2 separate regions of the Homo sapiens genome follow, and region 2 is linked to region 1. Evidence: promoter capture Hi-C in human tissues and cell types (Jung and others, 2019). All regions are on one chromosome and are shown on one strand. The core of a region is centred on a gene start or on the middle of the fragment in contact, and the rest is flanking DNA. Distances in the headings are between cores, read along the strand shown.

The links. The method cuts DNA at HindIII sites, captures the fragments that hold promoters and counts their contacts. A contact is called where the count stands out against the background at its distance.
Region 2: a contact is called between a fragment that was not itself captured here and the fragment with the promoter of TRMT10B in region 1, in 1 of the 25 tissues and cell types used here (dorsolateral prefrontal cortex).

The regions. Positions count from the first base shown.
Region 1 is chr9:37,750,848-37,756,620 of GRCh38, forward strand. TRMT10B (tRNA methyltransferase 10B) reads left to right here and starts at 2,958. Exons shown (of 9, transcript NM_144964.4): 1 at 2,958-3,005. RefSeq lists a silencer at 2,868-3,102. The HindIII fragment of the contact is 14,807 bases long and covers 1-5,773 here.
Region 2 is chr9:38,633,712-38,639,484 of GRCh38, forward strand. No RefSeq gene overlaps it. Among named protein-coding and RNA genes, the nearest start is that of FAM201A, 16 kb to the left of the region's middle. The HindIII fragment of the contact is 4,842 bases long and covers 126-4,967 here.

The DNA.
Region 1 (5,773 bases), core at 1,708-4,207:
TTTAAAATCGCAGCCGGGCACGGTGGCTCACACCTGTAATCCCAGCAATTTCAGAGGCCGAGGCAAGCGAATCGCTTGAGCCCAGGAGTTCAAGACCAGCCTGGGCAACATGGTGAAGCCCTGTCTTTTTTTTTTTTTTTTTTAAGAAAAAGAAAAAATTTGTAAAAAAAAAAAACAAAATCGTCCTGGAAGCTGATAATGGATGGATTGGAGCATGGATTGGGGATGGCTGGTAGGTGCTAGAGGAGCTGTGGAAAGAAAAGTCCACAGGGGGGAATTGTTGGGCCAAGGAGGAATCCAACCAAGCTGTAGTTTCTTGAACGGGAGATATTTCGGGCTCATTCAGGTTGGAGTCTCTCTGAATGGGTGAGACCTCTTAGGACTGCAGGAGTGAAGGAAGAGTGGCTGATAAAGAGGCCAAGGCTTGGGCAAGCCGCTTCGTGTCTCTGATGGAGGAAGAAGAGTGCCCAGGGGCTAGAATCATCCTGGTCAAAGCCCTGATATTCTGTTGTAGGCTGGGGCAGTGGCGAGGGAGGTTGTGTACTCAGGAAAGGGTTGTGTCAGCTCGAGGGCTCTGCTGGCTGTGGCAAAGCCTGGGGAAGGGCAAGGCTGTGGGATGATGGGCCGTCCAAATTTGGTTTCACCTGTTAACGAAGGGGAAAAAAGGTGCTAGACTCAGTTAATCTCCAGAATTGGAAGGGCCTGGGAGGGGAAAGATCTAGTTAGGTTAATAGAGGTTTTTTTACAGATGCAAATCCCTCCCGCACCCTCAACACAAAACAGCTTTGCAGGGGCCATTTCAAATTATGGCAATGAAACATATTTTGGGGTAAAAAATTTTTGTTTTTCTGTCATGTTGAGAGGTGACAGAGTGATGGCAGCCCTCGCTCGCTCTTGGCACCTCCTCGGCCTTGGCGCCCGCTCTGGCCACGCTTGAGGAGCCCCTCAGCCTGCCGCTGCACTGTGGGACCCCCTTCCTGGGATGGCCGAGGCCGGAGCCGGCTCCCTCAGCCTGCCGGGAGGTGGGGAGGGAGAGGCACAGGGGGAACCGGGGCTGCTCGCAGGGCGCTTGCGGGCCAGCTAGAGTTCCGGGTGGGCGTGGGCTTGGCGGGCCCTGCACTCGGAGCGGCGGCCGGCCCCGCCGGCCCCAGGCAGTGAGGGGCTTAGCACCCAGGCCAGCAGCTGCGGAGGGTGCGCTGGGTCCCCCAGCAGGGCCGGCCCACCGGCGCTGCTGTTGATTTCTCGCTGGGCCTTAGCTGCCTACCTGCGGGGCAGGGCTTGGGACCTGCAGCCCGCCATGCCTGAGCCTTCCCCCTACCCCTACCCCTACCCCTACCCCCACCCCTACCCCCACCCCCACCCCCGCCGTGGGCTCCCGAGAGGCCCAAGCCTCCCAGACGAGCACTGACCCCTGCTCCACGGCACCCGGTCCCATCGACCGCCCAAAGGCTGAGGAATGTGGGCACACGGCGAGGGACTGGCAGGTAGCTTCACCTGCGGCCCCAGTGCTGGATCCACTGGATGAAGCCAGCTGGGCTCCTGAGTCCAGTGGGGACTTGGAGAACCTTTATGTTTAGCTAAGGGATTGTAAATACACCAATGAGCACTCTGTATCTAGCTCAAGGTTTGTAAATGCACCAATCAGCACTCTGTGTCCAGCTCAGGGTTTGTGGATGCACCAATCGGCACTCTGTGTCTAGCTAATCTGGTGGGGACTTGGAGAATCTTTATGTATAGCTAAGGGATTGTGAATGCACCAATCGGCACTCTGTATCTAGCTCAAGGTTTGTAAATGCACCAATCAGCACTCTGTGTCTAGCTCAGGGTTTGTAAATATACCAATCAACACTCTGTGTCTAGCTAATCTAGTGGGGACTTGGAGAACTTTTGTGTCTAGCTCAGGGATTGTTAACGCACCAATCAGCACCCTGTCAAAACGGACCAATCAACTCTCTGTAAAACAGACCAATCGGCTCTCTGTAAAGTGGACCAATCAGCAGGATGTGGGTGGGGCCAGATAGGAGAATAAAAACAGGCTGCCCGAGCAAGCAGCGGCAACCCGTTGGGGTTGCCTTTCTGGACTGTGGGTGCTTTGTTCTTTGTAATAAATCTTGTTGCTTGCTAACCCTTTGGGTCCCTACTGTCTTTGTGAGCTATAACACTCGCCGTGAAGATCTGTATTTGCAGCTCTTTCTTGAGGCCCGTGTGACCACGAACCCACCGAGAGCGAAGGAACAACTCCAGGTGTGCCCTCTTAAGAGATTTAACACTCATTGCGAAGATCTGCAGCTTCACTCCTGAAGCTAGCGAGACCATGAACCCGCCAGAAGGAAGAAACTCCAGACACGCAGTCTTTAAGAATTGTAACACCGCGATGGTCCGCGGTTTCATTCTTGAAGTCAGTGAGACCAAGAATCCACCATTTCCGGACACAATATGATATCAGGTTGGAATTTGATATTTTAGTTCTACAAAGATTCTGTTGTGTCAGTCCCCGTTGGGCCTAAACTCCGCAAGGGATGGGATATAATATCAGTGCATGTCCAACCGCCCCGCTCCACTCCCGCTTCCTGTAATGGCCATAACTAGTTTTTAAGGTTTCCTTCGGCAGAGAGGGAGGTCCATTCAGTCGGGTGCGGGCCTTAGAATTTTTTTGCTTCACACACCCCAGTTTCGCAATGTCCAGCCCTTGACAACCAACAGAGCACCTGTAGGAGCCCTGTGAAGTTGGTAAAGGGTTGGGGTTGTAATAGCTGTCCAGCAGACGGGGAGACAGGGGTTCAGAGAAGGTGGGCAACCACCACAGCAGGACGCAGCTCCCTACCGCCAGGGCTGGGAGTAGAAGCCGCAGCCTCCGCTCCGGCTCGGCCCCACGAGCACCCTGCAGGTGAAAAACTACAATTTCCAGAATGCCATTCGGAGCGGAGTTACGAAGCGGAAGCGAGGCCGGGGGCGGGGGGGATCCGATGCGCGCCGCTGCCGCTGCGTGGGGGTGAGGGGATCAGGTACGCTGTCCGCTGGTTAAGGGGGCTGGCTGGGGGCTGCGGGGTCTGTCCTGGGACGTCCGCCTCCCTCGCGGGTGGGGCGGACGTTGAGAAAGCAGCGTTTAGCAGTCATGTGGCCTGTGGTACTCCACCTTCCTGATACTTTCCCTTCCTGCTTCCACTCGCACGCTCAGCCTGTGGGCCGGGAGAGACCCGCAGGCGGGGTGCTCTCAGGCTGAATTCGATGTGCCATCACTTAGCGGCAGTGTAGGTACCCATCAGGTGGGAGTTAGGCTAGCAAAGGTCTGAGGCCTCTGCCAACCTAGGGTGGGGGTGCGGAGTGGAGGATTTATGAACTCAGCAAGTATTTATTAAGCATCTATAAGCAAACAACACTTGCCTACATTGAAGGGATGGAGGAGGTTCCGACAACAAGTAAAATAGGTTATGTTGGATAGTAATATGAATGAGGAGAGGAAGGTAGTCTGTGAGTGTCTTAGGGAAGAGCATTGAGGGTAAAGAGAACGGCGAATGTAAAGGCCTTGAAGGGTATGTTTGAGGAACAGCAAATAGACCCCGGAGTGCAGAGGAAACGAGAAAGGTAGACCTTAGTGATCTGCATAGGTCATTGTATGGATTTGGGCTATTTACTGTCAGTGAAATGGAGAGTACTGCAGGGTTCTAAGCAGAAGAGTGGTGATCATCAAATACTTAGGATGCTCACAGGGCTCGGGTACTGAGGGTGTACAGGTGAATTCTTCCAATTCTTCCCTGGGTTTATAATCTAGTGGGGAAACAGGTAGACAGCTGTCATGCAAGGCAGGGTCAGATAATTGGAGCCCCATGAAAGCAGAACGAATGTCATCCCCAAGTCCCCAGGATGTACTATTATGTCAGGTGCTTAGTAGCTTTGTTGAACGAAAGTAATGAATATTCAGCATCGGACCCATAATTGGAGGCTCAGAAAAGATGTTTAATGAAGAAATGAAAAATAAATGAAATCTCACTTCTTGATACTGTTACAATGGCAATTAAGTTTCAACCTGAATGTGAGAAGGGGACAAACATTCAAACCAGAGCAGCACTCAAATTCATAAGATAGGAAATACAAAGGTGCTGCCAGGATTGGGGAAGGGAGAGTTATATAAAGGTCACAGGGTCGGGTGTGGTGGCTCACGCCTGTAATCCTAGCACTTTGGGAGGCCCAGACAGGTGGGTCGCGAGGTCAGGAGATCGAGACCATCCTGGCTAAAATGGTGAAACTCCGTCTCTACTAAAAATACAAAAAAATCTAGCCGGACATGGTGGCGGGTGCCTGTAGTCCCAGCTACTCAGGAAGCTGAGGCAGGAGAATGCGTGAACCTGGGAGGCAAAGCTTGCAGTGAGTCGAGATCGCGCCACTGCACTCCAGCCTGGGCGACAGAGTAAGACTCCGTCTTTTTTTTTTTTTTTTTTTTTAAAGTTAGTTTCACTTTAGGAAGACAAACAAGCTCTGGAGCTGGACAGTGGTGATGGTGGCACACAATGTGGATGCCCTTAGGTGTGTTTTTAACTGCACATTTACAAATGGTTAAAATGGTAGTTCCTATGTCCAAAAAAAAATGCTAAATTTGGGCATAGATAATGTCCCACACAGATTGAGCAGATCTCTGCTTCTGTGATGTCCAACTTCACCTTTGCTTTCTGAGGATCCCTAGGTGGCAATCACCTAATCAGTATTTATTGAGCTTCCATTCTGTGCCAGGCCTTATGCCAGACAACAGAGATACAAAGATACAAAAGAGGTGGGCCCCGCCTTCAGGAGTGTTAGCTTGTTCTATTACTCTTCTGATGGTGGTTGGAGTTGTTTTTATTTGATTTGCAAGGTTATTGCATCCCAAATTCCTGGTTTAAGAAACATTCTCAGGGACTGTAGAGATTTGGAGAAACATGAGGTAAAAGGAGGGGAAAAGAAAGGAAGGGAGTGGGAGTGGTGGCGGTAAACTTCAGTTCAATTAAACAAAAAATAAACACTGCTGTTTTCAAGGTTCTATACTGTGAACTCTTAAGTGTTTAGGTAAATGTAGGTATAAGCCCTCCTACAAAGGAATTCAGTTTGATAGGAGAGAAGATACCAGCACAGACTTTCCAATTTTTGAAAACAACAGTGGAAGTCTGTAGCTCCTAGGATCTCCTATCCTAGATCTCTTTTCCCCTCCTTAGCCAGACTACCTCCAGAGAAATCTCTAGATCCATTGCCTCCCAGTCATTCCCCAACAGGCCCCGGCATACAGTAGGAGCTTGGTGGAATGTTTATTAACTAATGAATGGTCAACACAGGTAAAAATACAAAATGCTATGAAGTTTAAAGGAGGAAGAGATCACATGGCTATTAACTAGCATTTATTTAACAAATGGGTGTTGGTTTTCTCACCCTAATACAATGAAGTTGTCAGTTAAAGATTAGTTTATCTTAATGTTTTCATTTGTTATTTTCTGAATGCCTATATGCAGGAAAATGCAGATGACTCTGATGGTATAAAAGTCTGTTCATTCATCTAAAAGAACTGTCATAATGGGGGTCTAGATATCTTTTGTTTAAAAAAAAAAAAATGGCTGGGTGCGGTGGCTCACTCCTGTAATCCCAGCACTTTGGGAGCCTGAGATGGGTGGATCACTTGGGTCAGGAGTTTGAGACCAGCCTGGCCAACTTGGTGAAACCTGATCTCTACTTAAAATGAAAAAATTAGCGTGGTGTGGTGGTGCGTGCCCGTAGACCCAGCTACTCGGGAGGCTGAGGCATGAGAATC
Region 2 (5,773 bases), core at 1,297-3,796, 880 kb after region 1:
ACACATGCAGTAGGTAGTGCAAAATAATACAACGAGATCACATGTATTCTTTACCTGGTTTCCCCCAATGGTAACATTTTGCAAAACTATAACAACCAGGACATTGACATTGATACAATCTACCAGCCTTGTTAAAACTTTCCGTGTTTTATTTGTATTTTGTGTGTCCATGTGTGCACATAGCTCTCTATAACTATGCCACACGTCTTGGCTCCTGAATCCACCACCACAGTCAACCCAGGGCAGCCTATCCCCTCAGAATTCTCTGGTGCTGTGCCTTGAAAATCACACCGACCCCCTTGCAATGCCCCCCTCCACTGTCCCTAATCCCTGGCAACTCCCAATCTGTCTCCATCTCTAAATTTTTCGTTAAAAAATGTCATACAAATGAAATCATAGTGTTTAACATTTTGGGATTCGACTTGTTTTACTTGGCTTAATTCCCTGGAGATTTGCCCCAGTTCTTGTTTATACCAATAGTTTGTTCCTTTTTATTGCTGGGTAAGTATGTCATGTTGTGGATATACCACAGCTTGCTGAAGCATTCACCTGATTAAGAATATTTGGGCTGATACTATTTTTGACAGACGACACCTGAAGCTGCTATGGACACGTCTGTGCAGGTTTTTGTGTGAACGTAAATCTTCATTTATCTGAGATAAAAGCCAAAGAGTGCAATGGCTGCATTGTATAAATCACATGCTTAGTTTTTAAGGAATCTACCAAATTATTCCCCAGACTGGTTGTACCATTTTACATTCCCACCAGCAATGTGTGAGCACCCCACATTCTCTGGATTCTCAACAGGCATTTGGTGGTGTCAGCATTTATTTTTAAGTTTCTCTAATAGCTATGTGCATTTAACTGATCGCTAATGATTTAAAACACTGTCTCACATGTTTATTTTCCATCTATACCTCCTCTTTAATGAGAGGATCCTCTTTTCTTCTTTCTAAATATCAAGAGCTCTTTTTATATATTGTAGCATAGATCCTAGTCCTTTGTCAGAAAATAGCATTTTTTATTTAAATACGGTCAATTTTGGTAAGGGTCCCACATGCACTTACAACAAATTATATTCTGTAAGTATTGGTTGCAGGGCTTTCTGTGTGTCAAGTTTGTAATCAAGTTGTTCAAATTGACATTTCTATTGATTGTTTTGTCTGATTGGAGCATCAGTTTTAGAGAGGTAAGTTAAAATCTTTATAATGTTGAATGTTCTTATTTTGGTTTGCAGTTTGGTCAATTTCTGTGTTCCATATTTTGAGAATATATTATTATTTAAAGCTTACAAATTTAGGATTGTCATATCACTCTCTTTGATGGCTGTTATTCTTTTTTTTTTCTTTTTAGCAATATATCTTGCATTAATGTCAACTTTGACTTATGATTATAAAGCTATACATTTTTTTTTCCTTCTCTTGTTTGGTCTTTACAAAGAATATCTTTTTCTAACCTTTGACTTTCAACTATTCTACGTATGCCTACTTAATGTTTGTTTCTTGTAAGTATAAAAGAGTTGTTTTATTTTCACCCAATCAGTTTTACTATTTATTTAGAATGTAATTACTGATAAATTAGAGGTTTTTATTGCTTTTTCTTTTTGATTAATAAACTTCTTTTTAATTATCTTTTTTGTCTGTTAGCTTGTTTCACTTTCCCAACATTTCAAGGACGCCATTCTGTTTACCTCCTTTGTGTATATTGAGACACTGTCTGTCAGCCTTATATTAATATTTTCTCTTTTGAAAATAACATTTCTTTGTTTGTGCTGCTTTTAAAATCTTTTCCTTGCCCTGTTTTTCTGCATACTTATTATAATGTACTAGGTGAAGTTTTTCTTAAATTAATTTGCCTGCTTTGTAGAATTTCTTAAATCTCTCTTTTACTGTCTATTGTCAGTTTGGGGAAATTCTTGGTGATATTGTCTTAAAATATTGCTTATGTCCCAATTCCTCTCTCCCTTTCTTCTGGAACTTCAATTACACAGATATTTTCTGTACATTCTATCAATTTTTTTCTGCTTCACTTAAAATGTTTTCTACTAATCTATCTTCCAACTCAACCCATATGTATGCATTTTGTATTTCAGATATTTATTTTCAATTCTGAATTTCTATTTGATTCATTATGGTTTCCAGTTTTCTGCCAAAAATCTGGATCATTTGTTTCTTTTCTAAAACACATGAATCATAGTTAACTATTAAAGTTCCTGTTATTATTGATAACAGTGGTATCCAGAAACCCTGCTCCCTTTTTTTTTTTTTTTTTTTTTTTTTTTTTTGAGACGGAGTCTCGCTCCGTCGCCCAGGCTGGAGTGCAGTGGAGCAATCTTGGCTCACTGCAAGCTCCGCCTGCCGGGTTCACGCCATTCTCCTGCCTCAGCCTCCTGAGTAGCTGGGACTACAGGCACCCGCCACCACGCCCGGCTAATTTTTTGTATGTTTAGTAGAGACGGAGTTTCACCATGTTAACCAAGATGGTCTCGATCTCCTGACCTCGTGATCCGCCTGCCTCCGCCTCCCAAAGTGTTGGGATTACAGGCGTGAGCCACCGCGCCCGGCCCCTGCTCCTTTCTTATTGTGTCTCTCTTGGTGTTGGGTCATGGGATGCTGTTTCTGGATGTTTCAGGTGAGTTTGCGTTGATACCCAAGCTTGGCTGTGCATTCTTGTCTTCTCCAGAGAGGACTTGGTTTTCTTCTGGCAGTCAAAGGACCGCCTTGATCCAGTCAGTCAAGGGAGTGAATCAAGACTACATTTCAGCCTAGTGACTTTCCCAGTGCTTATCTCTTTTTAAGTCACGACTCCAGAGACTGTGATTTTTCCAAGCAGATCTCCTTTGAAAGATAGGCCATGAACTCCCACCTCTGTCTCCCAGGACCCACAATTCCAAATGCTCTGTTAAGCTTTCTAGACCACTGAAAGCACCTCTTTTATTTGGTTCCTTTGCTTCTAATCTTAGAAAAAAAAAATAGGATTGGGTAAATCTATCAAGAACCGAAAGCCAGGCAGATGTCAGGCTCACTCTCTTGTAATTCTTCCTAGATAATAGGTCCTTCAAACTCTCACTGCTTGATAGCCCAGTTCAGGGGCTCTCATATCCTGTGTCTCCCAAAACCACTTTATCTGAGCTGCAGATTCCTGTTTGACTGCAATGCCCTAAACTGAAACTCAGCAGCAAATCCCCTGAAAGGAAAATGATTTGCAAAATGTGAAAATAATCTTAATAGATATGCAGATATGCCTGTGTCTTGATTTTATTTTAATTTTTAATTTTTTTTTATTTTTTATTTTTTTTGAGGCGGAGTCTCTCTCTGTCGCCCAGGCTGGAGTGCAGTGCCGCAATCTCGGCTCACTGCAAGCTCCCCCTCCCAGGTTCATGCCATTCTCCTGTCTCAGCCTCAGCGTAGCTCCTGCCTCAGCTCCCAGACTAGCTGGGACTACAGACGCCCGTCACCATGCCCAGCTAATTTTTTGTATTTTTAATAGAGACGGGGTTTCACCGTGTTAGCCAGGATGGTCTCAATCTCCTGACCTCGCGATCTGCCCGCCTCGGCCTCCCAAAGTGCTGGGATTACAGCGTGAGCCACCGCGCCCGGCCGCCTGTGTCTTGATTTTTTTACTTTAAAAATCCTGTCTGCCTTTTATCATTCTCCTAGACTTTAAGAGATTTGCTTTTCTGTTATCATTATATTCAGATTTCAAAACTATTCTCAGTGGGAGTTAGATCTGAGATATTTGGGGCTGGGGGGGGGTTCCAGTTACAATTTTTTGTTTTGTTTTGTTTTGAGACTGAGTCACTGTCGCCCTGGCTGGAGTGCAGTGGCGCGATCTCGGCTCACTGCATCCTCCGCCTCCCGGTTCAAGCGATTCTCCTGCCTCAGCCTCCCGAGTAGCTGGGATTACAGGCGCCCACCACCATGCCCGGGTAATTTTTTGTATTTTTAGTAAGACGGGGTTTCAACATGTTGGTTAGGCTGGTCTCCGATTCCTGATCTTGTGATCTGTCCGCCTCGGCCTCCCAAAGTGCTGGGATTACAGGCGTGAGCCACCATGCCCGGCACCATTTTATTTTGTTTTGAGACAGGGCCTCGTTCTGTGACCCAGGCTGGAGTGCGATGGCATGATCACAGCTCACTGCAGCCTCGACCTGTTGTGCTCAAGCAATCATCCCTCCTCAGCCCCCCAAGTAGCTGGGACTACAGTCATGTGACACCACACCCAGCTAATTTTTTTTCTTTTTTTTTTTTTTTTTTTTTTTTTGTAGAAATTGGTTTTTGCCACGTTGCCTAGGGCTCAACTGTTCCTCTTTCCTCAGCTACCCAAAGTGCTGGGATTACAGGTGTGAGCCACTGAGCCTGACCCCAGTTACTCATTTTTCTATCTGGCTTAGTTTCTGTTTCTTTCTTTCCTTCTTTGGTTTACTATTCCTTAAGTTATGTGAACATATAAAGGAAAAAAAATGTATCTTAAGTCAAATTCGTGGCTTTGGGTGGAAGAAGAGGGAAGAAAGAAAATGTATTTTTGGCCAGACGTGGTGGCTCATGCCTGTAATCCCAGCACTTTGGGAGGCCAAGGTGGGCAGATCATGAGGTCAGGACTTTCAGACCAGCCTGGCCAATATGGTGAAACCCCATCTCTACTAAAAATACAAAAATTAGCCTGGCATGGTGGCATGCGCCTGTAGTCCCAGCTACTCGGGAAGCTGAGGCAGAAGACTTGCTTGAACCTGGAAAGCAGATGTTGCAGTGAGCTGAGATTGTGCCACTGCACTCCAGCCTGGGCGACAGAGTGAGATTCTGTTTCAAAAAAAAAAAAGTATTGTTTTATTATACATTTAAAGAAGAAAGTGTTCATAGCCATTGATTTTTCCCTACATGGTAATATATTCGTGGCACCTGGGTCACGTGGAATTATGGGAAGAGAGTCCTTTTCCCTTCTCCTAGGCTGGAGTGCAGTGGCACCATCTTGGCTCACTGAAAGCTCCGCTTCCCAGGTTCACACCATTCTCCTGCCTCAGCTGAGTAGCTGGGACTACAGGTGCCCATTACTACGCCCGGCTGATTTTTTGTATTTTTAGTAGAGGCGGGATTTCACCGTGTTAGCCAGGATGGTCTCGATCTCCTGACCTCGTGATCTGCCCACCTCGGCCTCCCAAAGTGCTGAGATTACAGGTGTGAGCCACCACACCCGGCCAGTCAGATCTGCATTCCCCACTTCCACTCGCTTCTCCGTTGTTACACGCCTTTGACTTTTGAGACTCATGCCACCATGCAACGTGACTCCACTGATGTCCATCATAGTCCTCTCCCTTCCTGTAGCCCTGGGCTTCTTGTCACTGCTCCCCATGGGCAGTCTGATAATTCTTGTAAAGTGACTCATGGTTCCTCGACTCTTTTGACCCAATAACTTTTCTCTCCACTCCACTGCAAGGTGTGACATCAAGATGCAAGATATGAAATGACTGGTCATACCTTGCAACTTGCTACACTTTATCATAAAAATCTTAAGCACCTGTCCACAGTGCCATATATTTTAACTGTCATATGCTTGCACTTCCTGAAACACTTTCCCAATACTTGGGGACCTCTATTAATGGTTTTGTCAAATTTTTACCCAGCCTAAAGAAAATAATTAAAATACATTCAGTGTAGCCTGAGTGTACTGTGTTTATAAAGTCAGCAATAGTGTACATTAATGTCCTAGGCCTTCATATTTACTCACCACTCACACACTGACTCACCCAGAGCAACTTCCAGTCCTGCAAGCTCCA